Regions from separate parts of the Homo sapiens genome. Here regions 2, 3, 4 and 5 are each linked to region 1. Evidence: promoter capture Hi-C in 16 types of primary human blood cells and fetal thymus (Javierre and others, 2016). All regions are on one chromosome and are shown on one strand. Each heading gives the region's core, a stretch centred on a gene start or on the middle of the fragment in contact. The rest is flanking DNA. Distances are from core to core; before and after follow the strand shown. Region 1 holds the start of AGBL2 (AGBL carboxypeptidase 2). Region 2 overlaps CKAP5 (cytoskeleton associated protein 5). Region 3 overlaps CKAP5 (cytoskeleton associated protein 5). Region 4 overlaps CKAP5 (cytoskeleton associated protein 5). Region 5 overlaps CKAP5 (cytoskeleton associated protein 5).

What was found. The method cuts DNA at HindIII sites, captures the fragments that hold promoters and counts their contacts. A CHiCAGO score of 5 or more calls a contact.
Region 2: a contact is called between a fragment that was not itself captured here and the fragment with the promoter of AGBL2 in region 1, in 1 of 17 cell types (erythroblasts). The highest score is 6.1, in erythroblasts.
Region 3: a contact is called between a fragment that was not itself captured here and the fragment with the promoter of AGBL2 in region 1, in 1 of 17 cell types (monocytes). The highest score is 6.0, in monocytes.
Region 4: a contact is called between a fragment that was not itself captured here and the fragment with the promoter of AGBL2 in region 1, in 3 of 17 cell types (monocytes, fetal thymus and M0 macrophages). The highest score is 8.8, in monocytes.
Region 5: a fragment that was not itself captured here is called in contact with the fragment with the promoter of AGBL2 in region 1 in 1 of 17 cell types (erythroblasts); the score reaches 5.1 in erythroblasts.

The regions. Positions count from the first base shown.
Region 1 is chr11:47,713,968-47,716,667 of GRCh38, reverse strand. AGBL2 (AGBL carboxypeptidase 2) reads left to right here and starts at 1,299. Exons shown (of 19, transcript NM_024783.4): 1 at 1,299-1,493; 2 at 1,918-2,050; 3 at 2,321-2,384. The coding sequence starts at 2,018. FNBP4 (formin binding protein 4) reads left to right here. Exons shown (of 17, transcript NM_015308.5): 17 at 1-174. RefSeq lists an enhancer at 1,562-1,621. The HindIII fragment of the contact is 6,151 bases long and covers 136-2,700 here.
Region 2 is chr11:46,744,101-46,746,800 of GRCh38, reverse strand. It overlaps CKAP5 (cytoskeleton associated protein 5), which reads left to right. Exons shown (of 44, transcript NM_001008938.4): 43 at 2,224-2,375; 44 at 2,536-2,700. Among named protein-coding and RNA genes, the nearest start is that of MIR5582, 7.7 kb to the left of the region's middle. The HindIII fragment of the contact is 1,305 bases long and covers 744-2,048 here.
Region 3 is chr11:46,785,974-46,788,673 of GRCh38, reverse strand. The region is part of intron 16 of CKAP5 (cytoskeleton associated protein 5); the gene reads left to right. Among named protein-coding and RNA genes, the nearest start is that of SNORD67, 25 kb to the right of the region's middle. The HindIII fragment of the contact is 5,506 bases long and covers 1-2,700 here.
Region 4 is chr11:46,811,437-46,814,136 of GRCh38, reverse strand. All of the region lies in intron 4 of CKAP5 (cytoskeleton associated protein 5), which reads left to right. Among named protein-coding and RNA genes, the nearest start is that of CKAP5, 33 kb to the left of the region's middle. The HindIII fragment of the contact is 1,761 bases long and covers 567-2,327 here.
Region 5 is chr11:46,762,909-46,765,608 of GRCh38, reverse strand. CKAP5 (cytoskeleton associated protein 5) reads left to right here. Exons shown (of 44, transcript NM_001008938.4): 28 at 353-478; 29 at 1,979-2,128; 30 at 2,430-2,633. Among named protein-coding and RNA genes, the nearest start is that of SNORD67, 1.8 kb to the right of the region's middle. The HindIII fragment of the contact is 1,059 bases long and covers 757-1,815 here.

The DNA of each region.
Region 1 (2,700 bases), core at 50-2,549:
GTTCTGTACTTTCTGTTGTATCACAATCAGGTAAAAGTCACTTTAAACTGAGGAAACGGCAAATTGTGTTTTAAAGCTCTTTGTATTTCTCCAGTTTCTGACCTTGTAAATTTGTATATATGCACTAATAAAGCTTTTTTTATAATCCTGATGGGTTATCCTTTTGCTCGTCAACTCCTGTTATTCTGATTATGTAACCAGGACTTGTTTTTTTTTCTAAGCATATACAATGCAAGGTGCAAACATTTAACAACAGCTTTCAAGAAAATGAGCAGGAGATCTTTAATGGGGAGTGGTGGGGCCAGTTTAGACAAACAGGCTTCTAGTCCCAGATGGTGCTGTGTGATCAAAGTTTTGGGGTCTAATATTATCTATAATATCTAGATTGGTTAATAGCCATATTAGATAATATTTTACCTACTTAATTCCTGGCAATGATGTAATATGGTTAACATTTCAGAAAAAAAGGTGCTTTATAGCTTTTTTCCCCCCACTGATAAAAGTAACAGATACGGTTATATTCATATATAGTTAACCAAAGACACGTGTTTGAATTTTATTGTAGTATATTTATTTTTTTGTTGTTGGTTTTTTGTTTTTTTTTTTTCTGGAGACAGAATTTCGCTCTTGTTGCTCAGGCTGGAGTGCAATGGCACGATCTCGGCTCACCGCAACCTCCGCCTCCCAGGTTCAAGTGATTCTCCTGCCTCAGCCTCCCGAGTAGCTGGGATTACAGGCATGCGCCACCACACCCAGCTAATTTTGTATTTTTAGTAGAGATGGGGTTTTTCCATGTTGGTCAGGCTAGTCTCCAACTCTCGACCTCCCAAAGTTCTGGGATTACAGGCGAGAGCCACCGCGCCTGGCCTGGAGTAAATTTCTATGCATATAATTGATTTTTTTAAACCTAATCAAAATGTGTGATTTGAATTTGTTAGCTCTGTTTCTTAAGATTTGCAGTGTAGAAGGTAATTTTTCCTTTCTAGCTGTGCAGTGGAGAGAATGTTAAGGTGAAAGGAGAGAAGCAGCAGCTCTCTTAGAGCAAATTATGCATAACAGTTATCTAAAGCCAACAGCAAACCAGCTTGGAAGTATGTTGAAGGCTACTGGCATCGTACTCATCAATGCGGTTTCGATTCCGAGGCTGGGGCTGTGATGTATGAGGGGAAGAAAGCCGCTGCCCGCCATACATGTTGCAGACCTTCCCGGGGTCCCCGCTCCCTCCTTGGGGGCGAGGCCTAGCTCCCCGGAAGCGCCCGACCGCCCCGCCCTTTCTCCGCTTCCTGCTTTCGGTTGCTAGACTACCCGGGCCCTCACAGAAGGCGGTGGCGGGCGGGTGCAGCGAGTTTGTCCCCTTGCCCGCACACTGCTTGGCCTCTGTACTTAAGTGCGGTGGCCGCCTGCCTCGCTGGAGCTTCTCTGCCGCAGCCATCCGTGCTGCTTGGGACGGGCCGGGGCGCGAAGGCGGTCGCATCCATCGCTCTGCCCTCCTGGGAAGTTTCTGCTCTCCTTCCCCGCTCCTACCCTTAGGAAACCCCCTCACCACCTGCCCCAGACCAGGTTCCTCTGAACCCTAAATTCAATCTTTAGGGCCCACTTTCCCAACCCCCTGACCTTTTTCCATCGGCACCTACCGAGACGACTTCGTCGCGTGCTCCCATACCCATTTCTTTCACTTTCCTGTGGCGAGCATCTCCTTTCTCAGGGAAAGGGAAGCATGGGGCCAGCACCTTGGGAAGAAGAAGCGGGAAGATACGCTGCCCTCCCTGTCTCAGATGCACCTCTGGCCTCGGCGTGACCACCTTGTTTAGCTGAGGAGAAGCTGGGTTGGCAGGGTTTTCTGAAGTCAAGAGGGAGCTGGGGGGCGCCCGGGGAGGTATTGGCAGTTTTTTCACTTGTCCTCTTGTGGCTTTGTAGCTTCTCTTGTGTAATCAGCTGCCTATTTGGAAATTGGGCAGGGTTTGCGACTGGATGCTAATGTCACTGACTAGTTTTCAGCCTACCATCCAGAAGTAACATGTTCCCAGCTTTGGAAACGCACCTAAAGCAGGTCGGTACACAACACGGAAAGCCACAGAAATTTCTTCGGGGAACTCCATTTCTTCGGGAACTCCACAGAAATCTGCTACTAGATGAGAAGGGATGTTCTGGTGGCATCTTTTCTCAGCTGGAGATCTTGATCCCCACGATAGAATAATTCGCATGGAATGCAGCTCGCTTGGTTTAGTCTAGTCCTATGCAACAACGCTCATGTACTTTTTGTTGAGTCTATTATGGTTTGAAAACATTATCTTGATTGAAGTGGCCTTTCCTTTCACAGACTATTCCTGATCCTTATGAAGACTTTATGTACCGTCACCTCCAATATTATGGCTACTTTAAAGGTAATACCATGTTCTTATCTAGTATCACCTTTCCTGGACTCAAGAGGAAAATTGCTTCGTTAGCTGGGAGGGTTGCACTTGGGTAGACTAATAAATAATTTGCATTGACAAATAAATACTTTTTCCTCTACCATTAGTGAAAAGTACTTCCTTTCCCCATTGATCTGCGGGTCACCTCTGTCAAGTAGACAGCATCACTTAATACAAAGGTCTGTTTCTGGGCTCTCTATTCCATTGGTCTGTTTGGCTATCCTTTACCAGTATCACTGTCTCTTAATTACTATATGGCATTAAAATAGTCTTTATCTGGAAAGAC
Region 2 (2,700 bases), core at 147-2,646, 970 kb after region 1:
AATGTCATAGCACAATTATTTTTGTATAAGTTTAGTGTAGCCTAAGTGTACAGTGTTTATAAAGTTGACAGTAGTGTCCTAGGCTTTCACCTTCACACACCACTCACCCAGAGCAACTTCCAGTCCTGCAAGCTCCATTCCTGGTAAATGTCCTATACAGGTGTACCATTTATCTTTTATACAACATTCTTACTGTACCTTCTCTATGTTTAGATACATAAATACTTTGTGTTAACATTGCCTATAGTATTCAGTACAGTAACATGCTGTACAGGCTTGTAGCCTAGGTGTGTGGCAGGTTATACCAACTAGGTGTTCACATAACAATGAAATTATCTAACAAATGCATTTCTCAGAATGTATCCCTGCCCTTAAGCCACACATGATGATATTTGTTAAATGATATAAATGAATGCAGTAACTAAGTTTAAGCTGAAATGTTACTGCCCCCACAGTGAAAAAGTCCCTATTCGAGAATTACTGCTCACAGGATCTAGAGACAAACAGAAGACTTAGGAGGTTTCAGTTATAGAAAATAGCTATCATGAGCCTTAAACCAAGACAAGACAGACCCAACTGCAAAAGTGCCCTCTCATCAGTTCTATGCTTAGTTCTTTCCGAGTTTAGTGACATTCACCTACTCTTACATTTGAGAATGTGTTTGCCTGTCAAAGCATGTCCCTTTGTGTTTTTCAGACCCTGATCATATCCACTCTCAGCCTGTATCTTGCTGGGCTGAAGCTTCAGTTAAATTTTGTTCTCTTAAATAGGAGTTCTTTTTTGTTTTTGACACCTTAAATTACGCCTTTCCAAGACTTTACAAGTGTTTTTATTTTTTGAGGTTTTTTTGAGATAGGTTCTCACTCTGTCACCCAGGCTGGAGTACAGTGGTGCGATCTCGGCTCACTGCAGCTTCTGCCTCCTGGGTTCAAGTGATTCTCATGTCTTGGCCTCCCGAGTAGCTGGGATTATAGGTGTGTGCCACCACCCCCAGCTAATTTTTGAATTTTTTTTAAGAGGGTTTCACCATGTTGGCCAGGTTGGTCTTGAACCCCTGACCTCTAAGTGATCCACCTGTCTTGGTCTCCCAAAGTGCTTGGATTACAGGCATGAGCCACTGTGCCCAGCCAGGGTCTCTTTTTGTTGCCCAGGCTGGTCTTTAATGAAAAAGACCTCTTAGGAGTTAAAGTGTGGTGTGCAGAATGTCCAACAGTATGCCACATGTAAACATACCATGGTTTGATCAGGGCAGGCATCCTATCCTTGTTTCCAAAGCCCTTTTTGGGGATGTTCAACGTGTGATAATTTTGGCCTAAACAGCACATTTGCAACCCAAGCATGTATTCCCACTGATTATTAAATTGATTTTGTGCCTTAGAGTATTCAGACATCTCATATTGCTGGCTTTTACATAATTCTTCATTCATTTTTCACCCCCTCAGAGGATTCTCCTCATCTTTACATTAAAGGAGTCCTTTTTCCCTGGAGTAACCTTTCTACTTTTCTATTTACCATAAGGCAGTGTTTCCTCCCAGTACCTTACCTTTGGGGCCTGTGGAATGCATTTGCATTGATACCAAGTGAAATATTTTAAAGGCCCGCATTGTATCATTGTTCATTCTCAGAAATTTAGGAAGTGTGATGGATTTTTTGTTGTTTTGGTTTTCCTCTCTCCTGCCAGAATATTGATCTTAGTGGTAGGGTTACAGACACTCCAGTTCTATGCCCTCTTTAGATAATTGTTGGACACCTTCTCTTCCCCATGAATACACCATAGCCTTGGACACCTTGCTTCCTTCACAGGTTCAAATGAGTTTCTCCTATGTGACATTGGTCCAAACTTAATCTAATTCTTCCAAACATTTAAGGTCCTCGGGTTTTTCAGTTGGGCAATTACAGTATGCTTAGGAGTAGCTTCAGCTTTTTGGATTGCCCAAGTCAGCCCTGGGATTACTGGAGTACAATCCCCTGCATAACCCAGGATGCAGATGGATGACCCAATTTACATTCTGCCTTTCTATATCAGTTTTTTGCATTCTCAAGAAGCTTATATTGTATATTTCAGAGCACCCTTATCACCAACTCCAGGTAGATTCTTGTGGAATTTGTCGTTTTCAAGTATAGGAAATTCTTAATTGTTCTTTTTGGTGGGAGATTAACCAAGGCACTTTAGAAGGGGGATATGTGGATATCTGAATATTCTTTCTACTTTTTCCCCTCTAGGCATCTCCCCTCAGATGGAAGTCACATGTGTGCCCACGCCCACAAGCACAGTGTCCTCCATAGGTAACACAAATGGGGAAGAAGTGGGGCCATCTGTCTACTTGGAAAGGCTAAAGATCCTCCGACAGCGATGTGGTCTGGACAACACAAAGGTACTGCTCCTTTTCTTCTGTGCAGTTCAGGGAGGGTAGTCACAAGCAGGTCCGAGGCAGGCTGGCCCACAGAGAAGTGGCTTAGTCTTGCTGTAGTTCTGGAGCTGCATCTTGACCTGCTTGACCTGACCTTAGACAATCTCTCTCCTTCTCTCAATAGCAAGATGACCGACCTCCTTTGACCTCTTTGCTCTCCAAACCAGCAGTTCCTACTGTCGCCTCTTCCACAGACATGCTCCACAGCAAACTCTCTCAGCTCCGGGAGTCACGGGAGCAGCACCAGCATTCAGACCTGGATTCTAACCAGACTCACTCTTCAGGAACT
Region 3 (2,700 bases), core at 15-2,514, 930 kb after region 1:
AAAATGTGAGATTTGATGTCTTTTATTGAAGTAATTTACATTACATCATCCTATGGAGTAATACAGCAGAATAGTTTTCGTAATGATTTTTTTTTTTTTGAGACGGAGTTTCGCTCTTGTTGCCCAGGCTGGAGTGCAATGGCACGACCTTGGCTCACCACAACCTCCACCTCCTGGGTTCAAGCAATTCTCCTGCCTCAGCCTCCCGAGTAGCTGGGATTACAGGCACCCGCTACCATGCCCGGCTAATTTTGTATTTTTAGTAGAGACGCGGTTTCTCTATGTTGGTCAGGCTGGTCTCGAACTCCTGACCTCAGGTGATCCGCCTGCCTTGGCCTCCCAAAATGCTGGGATTACGGGCGTGAGCCACCGCGCCCAGCTTGGTAATGATTTTTAATGAACAATGGGGTGTGTGCATTTTGATTGAACACATAACTACAGTTGACTCTTGAACAATGTGGTGATTAGGGGTACTACCCCTTGTGCAGTTGAAACTTCACATATAACTCTGGACTCCCCAAGAACTTAACTACTAATAGCCTACTGTTGCCAGAAGCCCTACTGATAACATAGTCAGTTAACATATTTTGAATGGTACATGTATTGTATATTGTATTCTTACAATAAAGTAAGCTAGAGAGAAAATGTGATTAAGAAAATCCTAAGGAAGAGAAAACATATTTACTATTTATTAAGTGGCAGTGGATCATCATAAAGGTCTTCAATTCCCATCATCTTCATGTTGAATAGGCTGAAGGAGGAGAAAGAGTAAGAAAAGGGGTTTGTCTTGCTGTTTCAGGAGTGGCAGAGGCAGAAGAAAATTCATGCATAAGTGGATCTTCGCAGTTCAAACCCATGTTGTTCAAGGGTCAACTGTATAACTTTATATAATTAGGAATTTATATGTGTATAAATATGTAAATATGTATACATCCATATATAATTTGTATAATTTAGATATATACATTTTTTTCTTCTCATTTTTAGGCCTAGAAGCCTCCTTATCCAATCTTTACATATTCAAGGGAGAAATAAACAGTGAGATAGCTTTTTTATTTGATAGGATAAAAAATAAGTGCAGTCCTTAAATTGCCAGTGAAAATTTACCACATAATCAATTGTATAGCCCCATTAACTGATAATAGAGCTGAAATTTAGCAGTACCAAGTTATTAGTCTAAGGGGTGGGTATAGAGGGAAGTATAGGAAAGTGCTGCAGGAAGGAAAATGAGAAAAAGTTTCCTTCTCTTTTTCTAGATGTACATACAATAGACCTCATGCTAAACAAACTTGAAATGTATCAGGTTTATTATTGGCATCCTGCTAGTCTCTTTTTGGTTTCTCTTCTGCTGCCACCTCTTGTTTTCTGTCTAGGATGTTTAGCTCCCTCATACACTGTGTGTCCCTTACATTGTGTTACATAGCACCTTATTCGTATAGGCCAGCTCCACAAAGGCTAAATATTCTAAAAGATTCTTGAGGTGCCCTCTTCCTCTCACACCACCTTCTTTTTTTTTGAGAAAGGGCTTCACTCAGTTGTCCAGGCTGGAGTGTGGTGGTGCAAACGTGGCTCACTGCAGTGTTGACACCTTAGGCTCCAGAGATCCTCCCACTTCAGCCTCCCAAGTAGTCGGGACCACAGGCGTGCATCACTACACCTTGCTAATTTTTTTCTCAAATTCATAGACAGTATGAAGTGTAATCTCATTGTGATTTTGATTTTCAGCCACCAAAGACTCTCTCCTTGGTTAACTTAATGACCAGCTAATGACTGGAGAGATTTTCTTAAATGCCTTGAACCAATGTGATCTGTCTCCCACCCTCTGCCAAGGGGGAAGGTGTGTATGTTTGTGTGTGTGTGCGCGCTGGGTCATGCCAGAGATACTCAGGCACTTTACAGCTTTACCCTGGAATTCACTTTTTAAGCAAGGTCTTGAAGGTCAGTCAGAGATTAGGGCCCTTTTCAGTCTTTCCTGGGCATACACATAACCTTGAATATTCGCATGACCTTCTAGATTCTCAAAGTCCTCTGTGGATATCTTATTCCCTAGGTCCTTTTATGTTTTTGACCAAGCTGGGTTCCCCCAGCTGGTATTATGGACTTACACAGTTCTGATGTTAGATGTTAAACAGTTGCCACTCATTGTTTTCGTTGTTTTCAACAAAATCCCTGGGGATAGGGCTTTTCCCACTGAGCTAGCCAGAGTCCAGTCAAATAACAGGACTTTCAAATGGAGCTTTTCTAGGAAGCTGCCAGACAAGACAGTACTTTGGGTCAAAACTTTTTGAGGAGGTCCAAACCTGAGCTGTCCCCCCACCTGCCAGTGGCTGCACAGCTCTAGGTTTTCATAGTTGCCATGGTTACAAGACTTCAGGTTTTGAAGGCTACTGTGGAGCTGGAAGAAAAGGGGAGCAAGGCAAGTTAAATCACCAGAAACCTCACTGTCCTTACTAAAATTCAGCATCCTTTCTTTAAATGGTTCTTGTATGTTACAAGCCTTATTTAATTTTCAGAGTTGTGAGATAAGTTGATTTGGATAGTTTTTGCCAGTGTTCTTTGTTGCTTTTGAGGAAGATCAGTTTTTCAGAGGTATTGACTCCACAATTGCAGAAGTCCCACCCAAGATAATTACATTTCTTTGGTTTGTTTTTTGGTTTGGGAATTTTTTTTTTAATTTTTTAAATTTTTATTTTTTCACAT
Region 4 (2,700 bases), core at 198-2,697, 900 kb after region 1:
TTTTTGAGACAAGGTCTCGCTCTGTCACCCAGACTGGAGTGCAGTGGTACGATCTCAGCTCACTGCAACCTCCGCCCCTGGGTTCAAGCGATTCTCATGCCTCCAGCCTCCTGAGTAGCTGGGACTACAGGTGAGCACCACCACACCCAGCTAATTTTTTTTTTCTTTAATAGAGATGGGTTTCTCCATGTTGGTCAGGCTGGTCTGGAACTCCTGGCATCAAGTGATCCCACCTCGGCCTCCCAAAGTGCTGGGATTACAGACATAAGCAACCGCACCTGGCCTATAATCTTCTACCTTTAAATTACAAGTTTCTAGTCTGGAGTGCTGTGTACTCTGGTTATTTCATTTTTTAGCTAAACTGGGAGAATAAGGGTAGGAAAATAACAAGTTACGTATATCTCATGTTTTCTTCATAGATGTTGTTATGTAGTCCCATCCCTGTGTGGTTCTTTATTTGTCCTAAAGCATTTCAGAGTCTATAGTTTAACTAGGTAGCTCTCTGGGACCCTCAAGAACCTTGAGGCCAAACTGCTTGATCCTGGGTTCCAGAGCTTGCTAAAGCTTTGTTAGTGAGAGCTTCAGGTGACCAGAAACATTTGTGGTACCTAAAACAGGTTTCTAGTACCCTTTTGTGTTTTCTATAGTAATACGTTTAGTATCAAAATTAGGTTTTATTTTATTAAGGTGTCTATTTTCCATGTGGACTTGCTCCATCTTTTTTTTCTTACAGAAGGAGGCCAGGATAGAGAAAAAAGATTCAGATGAAACAGTAATAATATATAGGAAGATTTAAGAAATCTCAAATGTTAGGTTCTTCAGGCACCATGTTAAATATCCCTAAAACAAAATGGTTTATTGCCACTATAATTTCTTATTTTTTGTTTAATCTTAAAGGTCAGCTGAGCCAAGTTAAAATGTAATTTTTTTAATAATATAAAAGCATTTTAAAAAATCTTAGAGATTATGTAGGTTATTCTCATGATATTTGTACTTAAACTATATCACATAGCCAGGTATCTTATTAAAAATTCTTTTTTTATTGTGCCTGTAGTCCCACCAACTCAGGAGGCAGGAAGATTACTTGAGCCCAGGGGGTGAGGCTGCTGTGAGCTATGATTGTGTCACTGTACTCCAGCCTGGTTAACAGAGTGAGACACTATCTCAAAAATAATAATAATAATTAAGGCCAGGAGCAGTGGCTCATGCCTGTATTGTCCCAGCACTTTGGGTTGGGAGGCTGAGGCAGGCAGATTGCCTGAGCCCAGGAGTTCAAGACCAGCCTGGGCAACAAGGAGAAACCCCGTCTCTACAAAAAATACAAAAAAAAAATTAGCCGGGCATGGTGGTGCCCCTCTGTAGTCTCAGCTGCTTGGGGGACTGAGTCTGGAGAATAGCTTGAGCAGGGAAGGTCGAGGCTGCAGTGAGCTGTGATCATACCACTGCATTCCAGCCTGGATGACATAGTGAGACCCTGTCTCCAAAAAAGTAAAAACAAAAACCAAGAAAAAAAAATCGTTGGAGTACACTAGTAGCTATTACTGAGTAATTTTGTTGCATTTGCTCACATGAGATAAATTTGTGCACATTAGATAATAGATAAATAATAATTTGGGTCCTACTACTCATACAGAATTTCAGTGTTCTTTCATAAATAAATCTCTCCTGCTCCAGAATCTGATACTCACAAATGTTAATAGTGATATTAGATAGCTAAAATTGGCCAGTTGGGAACTTGAAAATGTAATCTATGACAGATATGTAAGGTTAAACACACTTTTTTTTAATTTTATTTTTTTTTTGAGACGGAACCTTGCTCTGTTGCCCAGGCTGGATGGAGTGCAGTGGCGCGATCTCGGCTCACTGCAACCTCTGCCTCCCGGGTTCAAGCGATTCTTCCACCTCAGTCTCCCAGGTAGCTGGGATTACAGGCGCCCACTATCGTGCCTGGCTAATTTTTGTATTTTTGTAGAGACAGGGTTTCACCATGTTGGCCAGGCTGGCCTTGAACTTCTGACCCCAGGTGATCTACCTGCCTCAGCCTCCCAAAGTGCCGGGATTATAGGTGTGAGCCACTGCGCCTGGCCAAATATGCTTTTTGAAAGAAGTCAAAATGCAACATTTTCCCCATAGAAAACTGAAGTAAAGAAAGATTTAAGATGCCCAGAGTTATAGTGTGATAGCCACAAAGTCAGGAACAAAATATTGCCAAGATTTGTGATCTATCTAGGTAAATGAATCACTTTAATTATAGGAGCTATTAAAGGTTTATTAAAAGTAGATTTCATTCATGTAAATATTTATAAACTAGTTTATATTTGTAAGCTTTTATATGTATATACATACATATTTGTGGTATTAGGCTGGGTGTGGTGGCTCACGCCTGTAATCCAGCACTTTAGGAGGCTGAGGCGGGTGGATCACCTGAAGTCAGGAGTTCCAGACCAGCCTGGCCAACATAGTGAAACCCCATCTCTACTAAAAATACAAAAATTTGCTGGGCGTGGTGGCGCATGCCTGTAACCCCAGCTACTTGGGAGACTGAGACAGGAGAATCACCTGAACTCAGGAGGCAGAGGTTGCAGTGAGCTGCAATCATGCCATACCACTCTAGCCTGGGCAACAAGAGCAAAATGCCATCTGAAAAAGAAAAAAAAAGGGTATTAAACATGTTGATCCTTTATAGGTTTTAATTATTCC
Region 5 (2,700 bases), core at 37-2,536, 950 kb after region 1:
AAAAAAAAAGATGTCATTAATATGGAAAGCTATAAATAGTGTTGAAGATTTCAAGAAAACAAAAACAAAAAGTTTGTGACCTAGACTAATGATCAGTAATAGCAGTTTTTCCAACTACATAACATGCCAGTCCAAGAACTAACCAACAGTTACTTAAGAATATTCTCAGAAAAATTTCTAGAGAACCTGTTCAAAAACATATACAAGATTCTGTGATGCATGTTTTTTTCATGTGAAATATCACGTAGAAAGATATCTCTGTTTTCTACAGTGCCCTTTTACTGGGCAGCAGCATCATATTCTTAAGGAGAAGTGGCCAAGCTAATCAGTATTCCCTGAACCTTGGTTGTAGAGTGCACAAGGGAAGAAGATGCCAAGCAAAACCAGCTTAAAGGAGGATGAAGACAAATCCGGGCCTATTTTTATTGTTGTTCCAAATGGAAAAGAGCAAAGGATGAAAGATGAAAAAGGATTGAAGGTAAGGAAGGATTAAGAATCGTCAGGAGATTTTTGCTTGTATTGTTATTCAAGAATAGTTTTGCTGTCTGAATTCATGTTATTGTTTAATATCTAGGAATTAAGTGTTTCTTTTGCTTATAAATTATATTATTTAGTTTATGGGAGCATTAATTCCTACAAAAGAAACTATAGAATAGAGTTATTGCCTATTTTTCCCTGTAAATAGAAATAAATGATTTAGTAGCTTTTTTGGTATCTTCATTGATTTTTTTTTTTAATTAATTGGATGTATAAGCTTCTTCATTAATCCTTCTTTTTAAGACCTTACAAGGCAGACTTTGTGACTGTATAAATGGCTAGTTCAGTCATTTATGTTACTTTGATTTCATTAGATACTTAAATTTGTTTTCAAAATACATAATCTTTTTTAAAAATTATATGCAGTACAGAAAGTGCAAAGTATAGTAAGAAAAGCATGTCTCTGTTCCAGTATCCCTCCACAGGGAGGATATTAGTCCTCATTTTTTCAATGTATTACTCCAGAAATATTTTATACCTCTACTATCATATGTATATTTTTATATAGCCCTCCTTTTATACAGATGGCATATACAGACATGCCGTACTGTTTGTTCTGTATCTCACTATTTTCTTTTAATGATGTTTGAAATATCTGAAAGATCATTCGTATCTGTGTATATATGTGTGTATCACTGTTTGTATTGGTGCATTGTATGTATGTACCTTTCTTTATCCTTCGCCCACTATGTTGGACATTTAGGTTGTTTCTGGTCTTTCACTATTACAAACACTGCTGCTGTGAATATCTTTGAATGTAGGTCTTTGTACACATATGTGAGTGTATCTATATTAAACTCCTAGAATGATGATATGCATAATTTTGATAGATATTTCAAATTTTCTCTCTATCAAAGATGTGGCAGCAGTGTCCACCATGTTATATAGTTATATGTAGGATTAATTTTTTTTTTTTCTTTAGTAAGAATTGCAAGGCCAGGCACAGTGGCTCATGCCTGTCATCCCAACAATTTGGGAGGCTAAGGCAGGCAAATTGCCTGAGCCCAGGAATTCAAAACCAGCCTGGACAACATATTGAGACTTCATCTCTACGAAAAAAATTTTTTAATTAGCTGGGCATAGTGGTGCATGTCTGTAGTCCCAGCTACTTGGGGGGCTAAGGCAGAAGAATCACTTGAGCCTGGGAGGTTAATGCTACAGTGATCTATGATCATGCCACTGCACTCTGCCATGCCCAGGCAACAGGTGAGACTCTGTCTCAAAAACAAACAATTCCAAAAATTTTTATTCCTAGAAGATTTTCAGAGTTGTTAAGCTTCAAGAAGTATGACACCTTGAAATTTGCATTCATATTTAATTACAAATGAATATTGTTGAATTTTTAAATATTTTATTGTTCCTGCAGCTGCATTATATAAGGCTCTCTACCTCATTTCAGTTGAACACCCTGTAGCCCCTTTTCACCGTTTGTTTTTTCCAGGTGCTAAAGTGGAATTTTACTACCCCACGGGATGAATACATTGAGCAACTAAAGACTCAAATGTCTAGCTGTGTGGCTAAATGGTTACAAGATGAGATGTTTCACTCAGACTTTCAGCATCATAACAAAGCCCTTGCTGTTATGGTTGATGTAAGTCTGCAATAGATAAATATACATGTATTTCAGACATGTAAAAATACCGAGCCCTATGAAATAATCTGAAGTTTGCATGACTTGGAAGTAGAATATACTATGTTCTCTATTTTTAGAGCTGTCTTGTTATTTGGTAGAATAAATGAATGTGTGTGTATATTTTTTAGGTCTTAATTGAAGGCTTAAAAATCTGTCATTTTCTTTTTGGGCTCCAATAAAATTTAAAAGACACTTGCCTAGTAGAATTAAGATTTTGATTATTCTTATTTGTGGGAGTTTTGTTTTGTTTTATTTTAAGCACTTGGAGAGTGAAAAAGAAGGAGTTATTGGTTGCCTGGATCTTATCTTAAAGTGGCTTACCCTGAGGTTTTTTGACACCAATACAAGCGTCCTGATGAAAGCACTAGAATATTTAAAATTGCTCTTCACCTTGCTAAGTGAAGAAGAATATCATCTTACTGAGAATGAAGCATCTTCCTTCATCCCCTATCTTGTCGTCAAGGTAATGTGGTGTTCTCTCTCTGGGAGACTGCTTAAGTTCCCAGCTGACCTCAGTTTCTGTACTTTTA